Regions from separate parts of the Homo sapiens genome. Here regions 2, 3 and 4 are each linked to region 1. The links are contacts of gene promoters, found by promoter capture Hi-C in human tissues and cell types (Jung and others, 2019). All regions are on one chromosome and are shown on one strand. The core of a region is centred on a gene start or on the middle of the fragment in contact, and the rest is flanking DNA. Distances in the headings are between cores, read along the strand shown. Region 1 holds the start of AJAP1 (adherens junctions associated protein 1). Region 2 has its middle 130 kb from the start of LINC02781. Region 3 has its middle 150 kb from the start of LINC02781. Region 4 has its middle 150 kb from the start of AJAP1.

Region 1 (3,328 bases), core at 282-2,781:
GGCGCGCCGGCGGGCGTATGTGCGTGTGTGTTTACAGCGGGGTGGCCGCCGGAGCTCCCCAAGAACCCCAGCTCTCCCGCCCCAGCTGCCCGCCAGCTGTGAGCGCCCGTCGGGCCCGGAGGTCACCCGCAAACAGCTGGGTCGGCAGCTGGGAGCCTGGGAGGCCCCTGCTCAGCCCCGGGGCCCCGAGAAAGGAGAAGGGGGAGCGGAGTGGCTGTTTGGCTGTGGTTTCCTCCAACTCCGCCTGCGAAGCTCTCGCTGGGAGCCCGGAGCTTTAGCTTTCCCCGGCAGCCCCGGCCCCCGCGCCCGCCGCGCCCAGCGGCCGGCGCCTCGCCCCGGGCCCCGGGGAGGAGGCGCGCCGGGGCAGCCGGCCAGGACACTGCGCTGCTGGCTCCTAGAGCTGCGGGCGCGCCTGGCCGGCCCCACTTCCCGGGTTGCTGGGGCGGGCGCCGCTGCCCCGACCCCGGACGCGCGGAACCCTGGAGACCCGGCCGCTCCCCGCCAGGGCCGCGGTGCTGCTCCAGGCTCCGGGCGGGCGCCCCTTTCCGGCTACCGGTGCACCCCGTTGCCCGCTTGCGGGAAGCGAAGAGGGGTCCCTTGATTTGCAACATAGAGGAAAGCGCCGCTTCCGCCCAGCCTGGCACCCACGCGCCCACACGCACCCGGCGCCGGCCGGGTCGCTCACCTGAGTCCTAAAAGCTGTTGAATCCACATGGTCACGTTTCGGGGAGCGGGGCCTCAGACCTGGCTCGCCCAGGCCATCTGCGCGGCGCCCGCGCCCGCTCGCTTCCGTCCCGCGGCGCCGGTCTCCGGCTCTCGGTCCGCCGCCTCCCGCCGCCCGCCGGCCGCGGGGCGCACAGCGAGTCAGAGCGCGGCCGCGCGGGGCTCCATGCCGGCCGGCGCGCCGCCGCCGTTGGGGCGCATGGCTCAGGCTGGGCGGCCCGCGGGGGCGCACATCCTCCGGCCGGGGCGCGGGGCTCGCGGCCCCCTCCGCCGGCGGCACAGCGAAGGCGGCAGCGAGGCGGGGCGTGTTCCGGCGCTGTCGCGGCGCAGCAAAGGGCTGGGGAGCCGCGGCTTCGCCCTCCGGGGCGGCGAGGAGGGAGGCCGGCGGCGCTGCCGCTCACGGTGCGTGTCTCCCGGCGCGCGGCTCTTGCCTCCAGCCGGAGCTCCGCGCCGATGGGGCGGCGCTGCTTAGGGTTTGGGGTGACGCGACGCGGACGGACGCGAGTCCCCTCCGCGCTGCCGGGTCGGGGGGCTCTGCCAGAGGCTCCGCCGCCGATCGGCGCCACTCAAGTTGCCCGGGGGCTCCGTCTGAGCGCTCGCTCTGCAGACGGCCGCGGCCCGGAGACTGGCAGGAGGCGGGCACGAGAGGCGCGCGGGGCGAGGGCGCCGTGGAGCGCGGGGCGTGGGGACGCGCGGCGGCGGCGCCGCGCGGAGGAGGCGCGCGGGGATCCCGGGGCCCCGCCGCCCGCGCCCACCGCGCCCGCCGCAGAGCCGCCCGCGCTGCTCAGCCGCCTCCCTCCTCGCGTCTGCCTCTCCGCGCGCTCGCCCCCGCCTCCCGGAGCCGGTCCCAACTCCGCCCGCCCGGCCCGGCTCACGTCACCCGCCTTCCCCGCCCCTCGAACGGGAGCTCGAGCCCCTGGCCTGGCCCCGGCTCCTGCTCGCCGCCCCACCTTGCGGGGGCCGGGGTCGCCGCGGGTGGTGGGGGGCGCTGTGCCCAGCAGGGGCGACAGCGCAGGCGGGGCCTCCTGCAGCCCCCTTCCCCATCCCCGGTCGCGTCCCGGTCCCCACCTTGCGAAAGGCTCGAGAGAGGCCGCAGGCTAGGATTGGACCGCCGGGCGCCGCCGGATGGTGTTGCCAGGGTAACCGGATGGCACGCGAAGCCGTTCGAGGTTCCGACCCGGTTACGGGGGCGCCCAGTGGACCCGGAGAGCTACTTTGGGGAGGGGGCGGCCCCGAAGAAGGACTGGGTGGGGGCGCATGGAGCGGGGGCTGCGCGAAAAGTTTCCTGGGGCGGAGCTGAGCCACGCGGGCCGCGCAGGAGCGTCTGTCCGAGGGTCGCCTACGAGGGACTCCTCTGCTCGGCTGCGCGGGCTTCTGCGTTGATGAAGTCACCGCGTTCCGGGTCGGAGCTTCGGCGCTTCTGCCCCGAACCCAGCGAAGCCCGGTCCTATGCCCCCAATTACCCAACGGTCCCTCATCGCCCAGCGCAGCTGCTGCCTGGCCAGGCCCTTGCTCCGGAGGAGTCACTGGAAAGTTCCAGGGAATCTGGGCCTCCCGGACTCTCCACCGGCGTTTCACTGCTCCCTTCCCATGCCAGGACTCCTCTGTGCCTACCTGGTTAGTCTGTATTTGCAAAAAACAAACAAAAACAACAACAAAAAACAAATGGGGGGCACTTAAAGGAGGACAGACGCTGGGCGGGGACCTTTCACTGAGAGAAGTGACATGGGGCGGAATCCTCTGCAGACCCGCTGACGCCTTGAGAAACCACGGCAAAACCCTGCTTTTAATCCTCCACAGGCTGAGGGCAGTGCAGAATCCGGGCCTTGGAAAGGACACTGGTGCCACCCTTCACTGGGGAAAGGTGCAAGGGGCGGGGGATATACCATGCCGAGCCTTCGCTCTGTGCTCTGTGCAGGTGCTTGACCCAGGCCAGCTCTGGAATCGCCCCAGGCCATGTGAGAGCCGTGGGGGGTGAGAGGGGCGGGAAGCACTTCACAGGTGAGGCCTCCCTGGGAGGGGCAGCCAGTGAGGGGGTGGAAGGGCAGAGCCAGGAGGACCATGGCTTGGGGCTCAGTCTCCCAGGCGAACCATAGCTTGGGGCTTAAGTCCCCCAAGCAGCCCTTTCACCCCCAGGCCTCCAGGATCTTTGCCAACGGTCTTGAGGAGCCAGGCACAGGATTGGACTCTGCCCGGGCAGGAGGATGAAGACAGTGACTTCCCCACCAAGACTCCCGGCAGAGGGCCAGAGGCAGGGAAGTGTGGTGGCAGGAGGGCCAGCCTTGCCGTGGCTGGACCAGGGGCCAGCGCTTGCTAACTCGGGGTCCTGGCCGAGTTGTGTGGCCTCTCCGACCCTCGGTCTCCTCATCTGTAAGATGGGTCCCACAGCCCCTCCCCGGGGAGGTGTTTGCAGGGCTCCATGAGAAGGCCTTACACACACTGTGGCTATGGTGATCTGTGAGCCGGTCAGAGGACCCGAGAGGCAGCAGGGTGACTCAGCAGTTTCCCTGCCGGGCCGCCCCTGGGTCATCGTCCCCTAGAGCCTCTCCCTGAGGGGTGTGAGGGAGCGGATCCCATTAAGAGGCGAAGGAGGCAGGGAGGTCCT
Region 2 (3,328 bases), core at 302-2,801, 190 kb before region 1:
TAAGGCTCAGGGTCCTCTTCCATGCTCACTAGCAGGTAGAATTCCATTCCTGGTGCATGTATGACTGACTGAGGCCCTCAGCTCCTAGGAGCTGGCTGTTGTTCCCTGCTAAGTAGCCCTTTCCACATCATGACAGTGAACTTCCTTCCCAGACAGCAAGAGAACATCTGCTACTTTGTGTCTCTTTTAAGAGTTCACCAGATGACATCAAGAGCAGACTCCCTTTGATTAACTCAAGATCAATTAGTTTGAACCTCAACTACACCTACAAAATTTCTTGACTTTTGCCATATGGTGTCATCTAATCACAGGAGTGACATCCCATCATATTCATAAATTTTGTCACATTCAAGGGGAGATGTACAGGCCATGTACACAAGGGGTGGCAATTGTGGAGGTCATGTTAGAATTTTGCCTACCACCCATTAGGAAAAAAAATCAATTTCAGTTCTACACCTTTGATGATTTCCATCTCTGATAGTTTCTGGTATGGTTTGGCTGTGTCCCCATCCAAATATCATCTTGAATTGTAGCTCCCATAATTCCCACGTGTAGTGGGAGGGACAGAGTGGGGGATAATTGAATCATGGGGGCAGTTTCCCCTATATTGTTCTCATGGTAGTGAATGAGTCTCATGAGATCCAATGGTTTTATAAGGGGTTTCCCCTTTTTACTTGGCTCGCATTCTCTCTTGTCTGCCATCACGTAAGACATGCCTCTCACCTTCTGCCAGGATTGTGAGGCCTCCCCAGCCACGTGGAACTGTGAGTCCATTAAACCTCTTTTTCTTTGTAACTTACCCAGTCTCAGGTATATCTTTATCAGCAGCATGAAAATGGGCTAATACAGTAAATTGGTACTGATAGAGTGGAGAGCTCTTGTAAAGATACCCAAAAATGTGGAAGCAACTTTGGAACTTGGTAATAGGCAGAGGTTGGAACAATTTGGAGCACTCAGAAGAAGATAGGACAATGTGGGAAAGTTTGGAACCTCCTAGAGACTTGTTGAATGGCTTTGACCAAAATGCTGATAATTATAAGGACAATGAAATCCAGGCTGAGGTGGTCTCAGATAGAGATGAGGAACGTGTTGGGAACTGGAGTAAAGGTGACTCTTGCTAAGTTTTAGCAAAGAGACTGGTGGCATTTTGCCCCTGCCCTAGAGACTTGTGGAACTTTGAACTTGAGGGAGATGATTTAGGGTATCTGGCAGAAGTTTCTAAGCAGGAAAGCATTCGAGAGGTGACTTGAGTGCTGTTAAAGGCATTCAGTTTTAAAAGAGAAACACAGCATAACAGTTCAAAAAATTTCCAGCCTGATTATGCAATAGGAAAAAAAAATATTTTCTAAGGAGAAATTCAAGCTAGGTGCAGAAATTTGCATAAGTAACAAGGAGCCAAATGTTAATCCCCAAGACAATGGGGAAAATGTCTCTAGGGCATGACAGAGACCTTTATGGTAGCCCCTCCCATCACAGGCCCACAGATGTAGGAGGAAAAATTGGTTTCGTGCCTGGGCCCAGGTCCCCTCTGCTGTGTGCAGCCTAGAGACTTAGTGCCCTGCATCCCAGTCACTGCAGCCATGGCTAAAAGGGTCCAAGTTACAGCTTGGGCTGTGGCTTCAGAGGGTGCAAGCACCAAGCTTTGGCAGCTTCCATGTTGTGTTGAGCCTATAGGTACACAGAAGTCAAGAACTGAGGTTAGGGAGCCTCTGTGTAGATTTCAGAAGATGTATGGAAATGCCTGGATGTCCAGGCAGAAGTTTGCTGCAGGGGAGAGTCCCTCATGAAGAATCTCTTCTAGGGCAGTGCAGAAGGGAAATGTGGTGTTGGGTCCCGAACATAGAGTCCTCACTGAGGCACTGCCTAGTGGAACTATGAGAAGAGGGCCACTGTCCTTCAGATTTCAGAATGGTAGATCCATCAACAGCTTGCACCGTGTGCCTAGAAAAACCACAGACACTCAACACCTGCCCTTGAAAGCATCCAGGAGGGAGGCTATACCCTGCAAAGCCATGAGGGTGGAGCTGCCCATGACATGGGAACCCACCTTTTGCAGCAGCATGACCTGGATGTGAGACATGGAATCAAAGGATATCATTTTGGAGCTTTAAGATTTGACTGCCCCATTGACTGTCCCATTGGATTTCAGACTTGCATGGGGCCTGTAGCCCCTTTGTTTTGGCCAACTTCTCTCATTTGGAATGGCACCGTGGACTTTTGAGTTATTGCTGAAATGAATTAAGACTTTGGAAGACTGTTGGGAAGGCATGATTTGTTTTGAAATGTGAGGACGTAAGATTTGGGAGAGGCCAGGGTCAGAATGATATGGTTTGGCTGTGTCCCTGCCCAAATCTCATCTTGAATTTTAGCTCCCATAATTCCCACATGTAGTGGGAGTGACCCAGTGGGAGATAATTGAATCACAGGGGCAGTTTCCCTCATACTGTTCTCATGGTAGTGAATAAGTCTCACAAGATCTGATGATTTTATAAGGGATTTCCCTTTCGCTTGGTGCTTATTCTCTTTTGTCATGGTGTAAGATGTGCCTTTCACCTTCTGCTATGATTATGAGGTCTCCCCAGCCACTTGGAACTGTGAGCCCATTAAACCTCTTTTTCTTTGTAAATTACCCAGTCTTGGGTATATCTTTATCAGCAGCATGAAAACGAACTAATACAGTTTCCAGTGCCATTTGGTTAAGAACTTGAAACTTTCATGCTCATCTATTAAAATGAAATAAATATCTGCCCTCCCTGCACAGTTCATTTGGGGGTGCTTTGCATTGTGGGCAGTAAAAATCCCAGCTCAGGTAATATAACAATAAGAATAATCTGGAAGTAAATGATTTTCAATTATGGTTTGGTCAAGGAACCAGCTCTACTTCTCTGTGATTCTGTTTTTTTATTGTTCCCTCTCCATGCAAAGGCTGACTTATCTTATGGTGGGCAGGTGACTGCAAAAGTGTGTGTGTGCATCAGCTGTCTTCAGTGTAGGCAGATGCTTCTCTTTCTCAAAACATCAAGCCACAGAATACCTCATCAATGAATCAGTCCAGTGAACCAATACCTCCAATGAACCAGTCCCTGGGGCCACGGAGACTCTGTGTGAAGATTAGCCTCTGGCTGGGTTTTTGTCTGTCTCTGAGCTCATCTCTATGGCAAAGTGAGCAGGATCAGAGCCCACTCCCAACCCTGAGTTGAGAGTGGAATCAACTCCACCCAAACTGAGGCTACCACAAATTAGGGAGAGTGCAGTGGCTGCTTGGAAGTTCCCCCTCACCACCACCCCCAACCCAGGTCCCTATGGTGCCCACCATGCTGTTGCTGAA
Region 3 (3,328 bases), core at 610-3,109, 170 kb before region 1:
TAGGAGAGATTTAACTACAGCCTAACACCTTTTAAGTTCCCCAAGGAGACATTTACCCTCCATTCTCTCTGAAGCCTGCTACTTAGAGGCCTGGTCTACATAATAAGAACCTTGGCTTCCACAGCCCCCTTTACCTTAACTCAAGCCTTTCTTTCTGCTGACTTCAGCTCTTAAGGCAAAGCTTAACTCTTTCAACCAACTGGTGATCAGAAAATCTTTGAATCCACCCATGACCTATAAGCCCTCCCCATCCCCTACCCCTGCCCCACTTCAAGATGTCCCACCTTTCCAGGCTGAACAAATGTATACCTTATGCATATTGATTTATGTCTTTGCCTGTAACTTCTGTATCCTTAAAATGTATTGGCTGGATGTGGGGCTCATGCCTGCAGTCCCAGCACTTTGGGAGGCAAAGGCAGGTGGATCACTTGAGGTCAGGAGTTCAAAACCAGCCTAACTGACATGGTGAAACCCCATCTCTACCAAAAGTACAAAAATTAGCTGGGTGTGGTAGTGGGCACCTATAATCCCAAATACTCGGGAGGCTGAGGCAGGAGAATTGCTTGAGCTCAGGGGGCGGAGGTTGCAGTAAACCGAGATCACATCACTGTACTCCAGCCTGGGCAACAGGAGTGAAACTCCATCTCAACAACAACAACAACAAACCAAACAAATATTATACAGGTGTGGTGGTGCATGCCTGTAATCCAGCTACTCAGGAGGCTGAGGCAGGAGAATAGCTTGAACCTGGGAGGCAGAGGTTGCAGTGACCCATCATCACACACATATATATATGTGTGTGTGTGTGTGTGTGTGTATATATATGTACACGTATATATACGTATATATACATATATACATACACGTATATATACGTATATATACGTGTATATGTATATACGTATATAACATCTCAGGAGCTGGGCAAGTGGGTTCAAGCATGCACACTAAGAGGCAAAATGGTGGAGTTTAACTGGTCTATGACTCCTCCTAGGGACATCTGGTAAGAGAAGAATGCCTCAAGTGAGTATGTACACAACTGTAGTAAACACACTGCACATGTGATACCCCCTCTCCCTGTAAGTGCTGGCAGCCACTGTGCATGCGGACAGCCCACCCCAAGGGAAGAATATATATACGTATATATATACACATATATATATGTAAGCTGTAACCCGACCCCCTCAGGCACTTGTACTCAGGACTTCTTGAAACTGTGTGCAAGCCATGGTCACTCATATTGGACTCAGAATAAACTTCTTTAAACATTGTTAATAGAAAAACATTAGACAAATTAAATTTAACAGAGTTTAATTGAGCAAAGAAAAAAAAGAATGATTCTTGAATCGGGTAACCTCCAGAATCACAGCAGATTTAGAGAGACTCCAGGGATGCCTCTTGGTCAGAGCAAATTTATAGATTAAAAAAAGGAAAGTGATGGACAGAAAACAGAAGTGAGATTCAGAAGCAGCCGGATTGGTTACAACTTGGCATTTGCTTTTATTTGAACACAGTTTGAACAGCAGCCTATGAGTGGTGAAAGTCTGGCTGCTGAGATTGGCCGAGACTCAGCCACTGAAGCATCCTCCTAAATCAGGTGTCTAGTCTCGTCTGCTTACTAAGTTAGGTTACGGTTCATCCTCAAGGACTCAAGTATGGAAGTATGGAGGCTTTCTCAGGCCATATTTAGTTCTATTTAACAATATTTTACAGGGTTTGGCCTTTCTCAACACTGGCCTGAGGACTGTGGGCATGTTATGCCACGGTCTCTGCTCGGGGGAGCCCTTGGAGGCTTCTAATTGCAAACCTCGAGTTGTGAGTCTTTTCCTGCTATGTACTTCAAATAATACCCAGCTCCCAGTGAGCACCAAGGAAAGGTCAGCTGTTACTTGGTATTATTGTTCAGCAGTGGCAAATCCACATGGGTCTACAGCAGCCTCAATTCTTGCCTCCTCAGAAGAAAGAATTCAGCTAAGGGGCATAAGGCAGAGGGAGACAGTGAGGCAAGTTTTAGAGCAGGAGTGAGTTTATTAAAAAGTTTTAGAGCAGGAATGAAAGGAAGTAAAGTACACTTGGAAGAGGGCCAAGTGGGTGACTTGAGGGATTCAAGAGCACAGTTCGACCTTTGACTTAGGGTTTTATATGTTGGCATACTTCCAGGGCCTCGTGTCCCTTCTCTCCTGATTCTTCCCTTGGGGTGGGCTGTCCGCATGCACAGTGGCTGCCAGCACTTACAGGGAGAGGGGGTTCCACATGTGCTGTGTGTTTACTAGAGTTGTGTACATACTCACTTGAGGCATTCTTCTCTTACCAGATGTCCCTAGGAGGAGTCATAGACCAGTTAAACTCCACCATTTTGCCTCTTAGTGTGCATGCTTGAACCCACTTGCCCAGCTCCTGAGATGTTATCGGAAGCTGCTGATCATGAGTTTCAGATGTTTCTATCTATTGGGGATACTGCTTTTCCCTGGCACTGGCTGCAACCAATTATTATTTTAGAGAAACAGTTTAACCACTGCTTGACCATCAGTGATTGTTGCCTGATATTTCTGGTTGGGGTTGTAGGGGCCAGGGGCGCTCTCTCCTGCCCTGCGTATGTCTGACCAACTACCTTCGGTAACATTATTATTAATGAATTACAGAAGATAATCTTTCTCTCAATCTCTCTTTCTCTTTCTGTCTCCCCAAACACCATCAAATGATGGGGTGCCTTGTCACCACTGCACGCAGTCATCAGGGCTAAAGCCAGAGGGGAAGAGTCTGGCTTCCCTCATGGTATTAGTCTGGGCCTTAGATGGGTTGGTAGGGTGGAGGGGGTCTGTGAATCCCCTCAAATAGCCCACAGTTTGGGCTCACGTTACCTTCTCTGGGGAGGGAATCCATGACTTTTCTCAAATAAGCAAAAAGTACAAAAGTCCCCAAGAGCCGCCAATTCCTGCTCCACTGGCCCTCCCTGGGACTTCAGTTTCCCCCATTAAGGCACTGAAGTTCCTATCATTATGCAAATATGTTAATAGAATAACATTTCCACCCATCAGGAATCATTAACATGAGTTAATCTACAAATTTAGAATAAGAAATGAAGAGGACAGGGATCCTAGGGGAACAGCCTGACTTCAATGTGAGAAGAACCTTGAAGGGCTTCCTTCAAGCCTGGACATTAACTCTCTCTTGACCAAGAAGAGGCCACATGTGTCTCTGCGCCTCCAGTTTTCACATCCGCAGAAGGAGAGGGCCAGTACAGAAGACCCTCCTGTGGTTACATCTTCATTTTAGTGTCTTTTTTAGGACAAAGCCTCTCATGTCCATTATAAATCCTTTGCTCTCT
Region 4 (3,328 bases), core at 599-3,098, 150 kb before region 1:
AGCCTGGATGAAACAGATGTGAGAATCCCCCATCAAGGGAAAAATGGAAATACTCCTAAAATAATTGTCTTTATCTTTGACGGAATAAAATACCCTCCCATCCCCACCAGTTGTCAGTTTCCAAGGGATTGCTCTTTTTTTTGGCAAAAAGTGATTTCAATGGTGTCTATTTCCTGGGTGAGTGGGTGAAATGAACCCCAGCCTTTCCTCAGGACTGTCACAAAGACAGAAGATGAATGAGTTTAGAGTTCTGTTAAGGCATTTGGACCAATAGGGAGCCACTCTGCACAGTTTTGTGCAGAGAATATTGAATGTCATTTTTGCAATGGCAGTGGGAAGAAGAGGAGAGAAGGTGAGCATCCCAATAAGGATGTGGTATAGACAGACTGGGTGCAGGTTAGTGAGGCTTGATCAGAACAGCATGTGTGTTAGTCCATTTGTGCTGCTACAACAAAATACCACAGGCCACGTAATATATAAAAAACAGAAAATTTATTTCTCACAGTTCCGGAGGCTGGGAAGTCCAAGATCAAGGCACAAGCATCCAGTACTTGGTGAAGGCCTTCTTGCTGTGTCCTCACATAGTCAGTGGGAGGGAAAGTGGGAATGAGCAATGTGCCCTCACATAGCAGAAGAGCAAAAAGAGTGAATTCCCCACCCACCCTGCAAGCCCTTTTCAGAGCAACGTTAATCCATTCATGAGGAAAGATCCTCATGGCCCAAACCCTCTCAAAAGGCCAGATCTCCCAACAGTGTTGCACTGGGGATTAAGTTTCAACATAACTTTTTGGAGAGGACAAAAGCATTCAACCCATAGCAATGCGGGAGAGATGGAGACAGGGGAGGGTTCAGAGCCGTTTCTGATGGGGGATCACTGATGCGTGTGGGGAGCTGGCCTCCGCAGGGATGGTGTCTTCATGCCTGGGTGGTCCCCTTGCCTTCTTCGGGACTGGGGAGCTCCCACCTTCTGCTCTGGCTCCTCCATCTTCACTCAGCAGCACATGCATCTTCTTCCTATCTGGCTACCTTCCTGCAGGCTTGAGACAGAGACAACTGTTGTATTGAGTCCAGTGGGTGGTGGGCAAGAGGTGAGCCACCCTGGAGGAGAGTATGGGGTAATAGAACTCTCATGACCTGGCCAGGATCCAGGTGTCTGTTTCCTCCCCAGATCACACCATAAGACCTTCTGCCCCTGTCCAGCCCCACTGTCTTTGTTGCTTTTACACATCACCGCCAGGCCCTGGCTTGGGTTCGGAGCAGCTGTGTGTGGACATTTTCCAGCACAGACATCTGGCTTCCTGGCGAGTACCCCAGTTGGCCGTGGAAACAGCTCTGTGTTTTGCTCCTCCTGCAGGTCCGCCCCCTCGGCCACGGGTCTTCCTCAAGTGGCCTGTTGGTCTGGCTGCCTGTTCTCAAGGCTCCTCTCTGGACTGCTGGCTCTGGTTTAGCTTCCCACTCAACCCTCTGTCTGCATCTCTTTTTTCAAATTCGGTCCTGTTCACAGCACTTCTTTGCTCAAAAGCACAAAGGGCTCCTCTACTCCTGAAGATGTGATTCTGCCCAAGTCGGGCACATCTGAGCCACCTGGGACACCCTCTAACATGAGACCCATTTAATCCGAAAGTGAGCCTCTTGTCCAGGCGACCCAGTGTGTTCCCCGCTGGTCTACAGAATGAAGTCAAAGTGTCTGAGCTCAGCATCAAAGCCTTCCTTGACCCATCCCAACAGCCTGCTGGAAATTGTACCTGGACAAGCTTCTGTGGCAGATGGGTCTCCTTCGTTTCCCAACATTGCTACCATCTACGATTTCCCTGGATACCTTCCCATCCTAGTCTGAATATGAGTCCCTACAGGACTTATGTGTTAATGCTTTATTGCAGGGAGTGTAATTCAGGGAGTGTAATTCTGGGAGTGAGACCGTTTGGAGGAAAGGAAGAGAAAAGGGGTGGAGGAAAACAAATGCAAGTTGGTGGTGAGTTATTGTGCTGGCCACAGCCTCCCAATCACCTTTGCTTGGTCAGGCTGGAATTCTCCAGAGAAACCACCTAGCAATGTCCTCTTTGGAGCAATCCATTAGGGAGAGGAAAGAAGAGGAATTTATCCACACAGCTCCTTCTTTCTTTCCTTCTCTCAAAGTTTGCCCCTCAGTTTAAATGACCTGGCATAGTGTGGCCACCTCTGGGGAAGCTGAGCCTTGTGTTTTCAGAGGGAGCTTCCAGGCACGATGTGCAGGGTGAGCCACAGGCGTGGGCCATGCACTGTCTGCCCACAGCCTGTAGCTGCATCTCACAGCCTGCCCTTGCAGACAGGCACGTGTGTAAGAGCCAGACAGGTTTTGGGGCATCTCGCACAGCTAAGGCGACAAGGAGGGTGGAAGATGGGAGGTGGGGGCATCAAATGAAGCCTTGTCTGGATGCAGGGTGGAGACATAGTGGCTTGAGAAGCCCAGTGAGCGGCTTGTTCAGGGGCCTGACCTCCACCGTGGAGGCCGTGATGAAGCTCAAGGAGGATTTCTCCACCAGAGTCCATCCTCTTCTATGGATTTCATGGACAAGTCTGGTGCCTGAGGACCTTCCTGGAGAGGCATCAACTGCACCGGTAGAATGCCTGCATGGCATGTCCTAGGGAGGCAAATATAATAGGGAAGGCGCAGCATCCTCCCCTCCCATGGGGCCCCTGGTCACTTGGCCTGTAGGCTCCTTCCCCTCTCGGGGCTCCCAGGCCCTGTCCTCTGTAACTTGTACATGCACAAATCACATGCTGTCTTGCATTGTTTATGTATGTGACTCTGTTTCCCTCCCTCTCCCAATGATACTTCTTCCCAGAACTTGCAAGTTCTCAAAGAATTCTGGTGGGAGAAGACACCTCTTCTGGGGGACTAGGCCAGAAGCCACTCAGCCCCCATCAGCCTCTTGTCATTTAGTGTGGTCTTTGGCTGGTAGTTTAGCAGGGAGGGGAAGCATGTGGGCACTGAGGTTGGACTATTTTGGCTGAAGTCAGGCTGTGTGACCAAGAGCAAGTTCCTCAACCTCTCTCTGACTCAGATTCTTCATTCATAAAGCTGGATGACACTAATGCCTACTTCATAGCATGGTCATGAGGAATAAATGAGGCAATGCAAGCCGCGTGCTTGGTGCTAGGTCTGCCGTCTGGAAGGGCTCGAACCCTCTTGTGATGCCACCATGGTGCAGGAGGAGAAAACTCATGTCTCCCTGCAAAGCTGCAGGATCTCTGGCTTCAAGGCGTTCACTCTTCCCCTCCTCACCTCCAGCAGCTACTCCAACAGCGTAGATTTTGTTTTCTTAGCAAAGCCCAGAAGGGAAGCAGA

The links. Contacts are between HindIII fragments. The study calls those that stand out against the background at their distance.
Region 2: a contact is called between a fragment that was not itself captured here and the fragment with the promoter of AJAP1 in region 1, in 2 of the 25 tissues and cell types used here (liver and spleen).
Region 3: a contact is called between a fragment that was not itself captured here and the fragment with the promoter of AJAP1 in region 1, in 4 of the 25 tissues and cell types used here (H1 embryonic stem cells, dorsolateral prefrontal cortex, neural progenitor cells and 1 more).
Region 4: a fragment that was not itself captured here is called in contact with the fragment with the promoter of AJAP1 in region 1 in 2 of the 25 tissues and cell types used here (dorsolateral prefrontal cortex and hippocampus).

Annotation. Positions count from the first base shown.
Region 1 is chr1:4,652,812-4,656,139 of GRCh38, reverse strand. AJAP1 (adherens junctions associated protein 1) reads right to left here and starts at 1,531. Exons shown (of 6, transcript NM_018836.4): 1 at 686-1,531. The coding sequence starts at 714. The HindIII fragment of the contact is 14,001 bases long and covers 1-3,328 here.
Region 2 is chr1:4,838,157-4,841,484 of GRCh38, reverse strand. No RefSeq gene overlaps it. Among named protein-coding and RNA genes, the nearest start is that of LINC02781, 130 kb to the left of the region's middle. The HindIII fragment of the contact is 6,638 bases long and covers 1-3,328 here.
Region 3 is chr1:4,821,061-4,824,388 of GRCh38, reverse strand. No RefSeq gene overlaps it. Among named protein-coding and RNA genes, the nearest start is that of LINC02781, 150 kb to the left of the region's middle. RefSeq lists an enhancer at 2,734-3,324. The HindIII fragment of the contact is 6,733 bases long and covers 1-3,328 here.
Region 4 is chr1:4,799,700-4,803,027 of GRCh38, reverse strand. No RefSeq gene overlaps it. Among named protein-coding and RNA genes, the nearest start is that of AJAP1, 150 kb to the right of the region's middle. The HindIII fragment of the contact is 9,800 bases long and covers 1-3,328 here.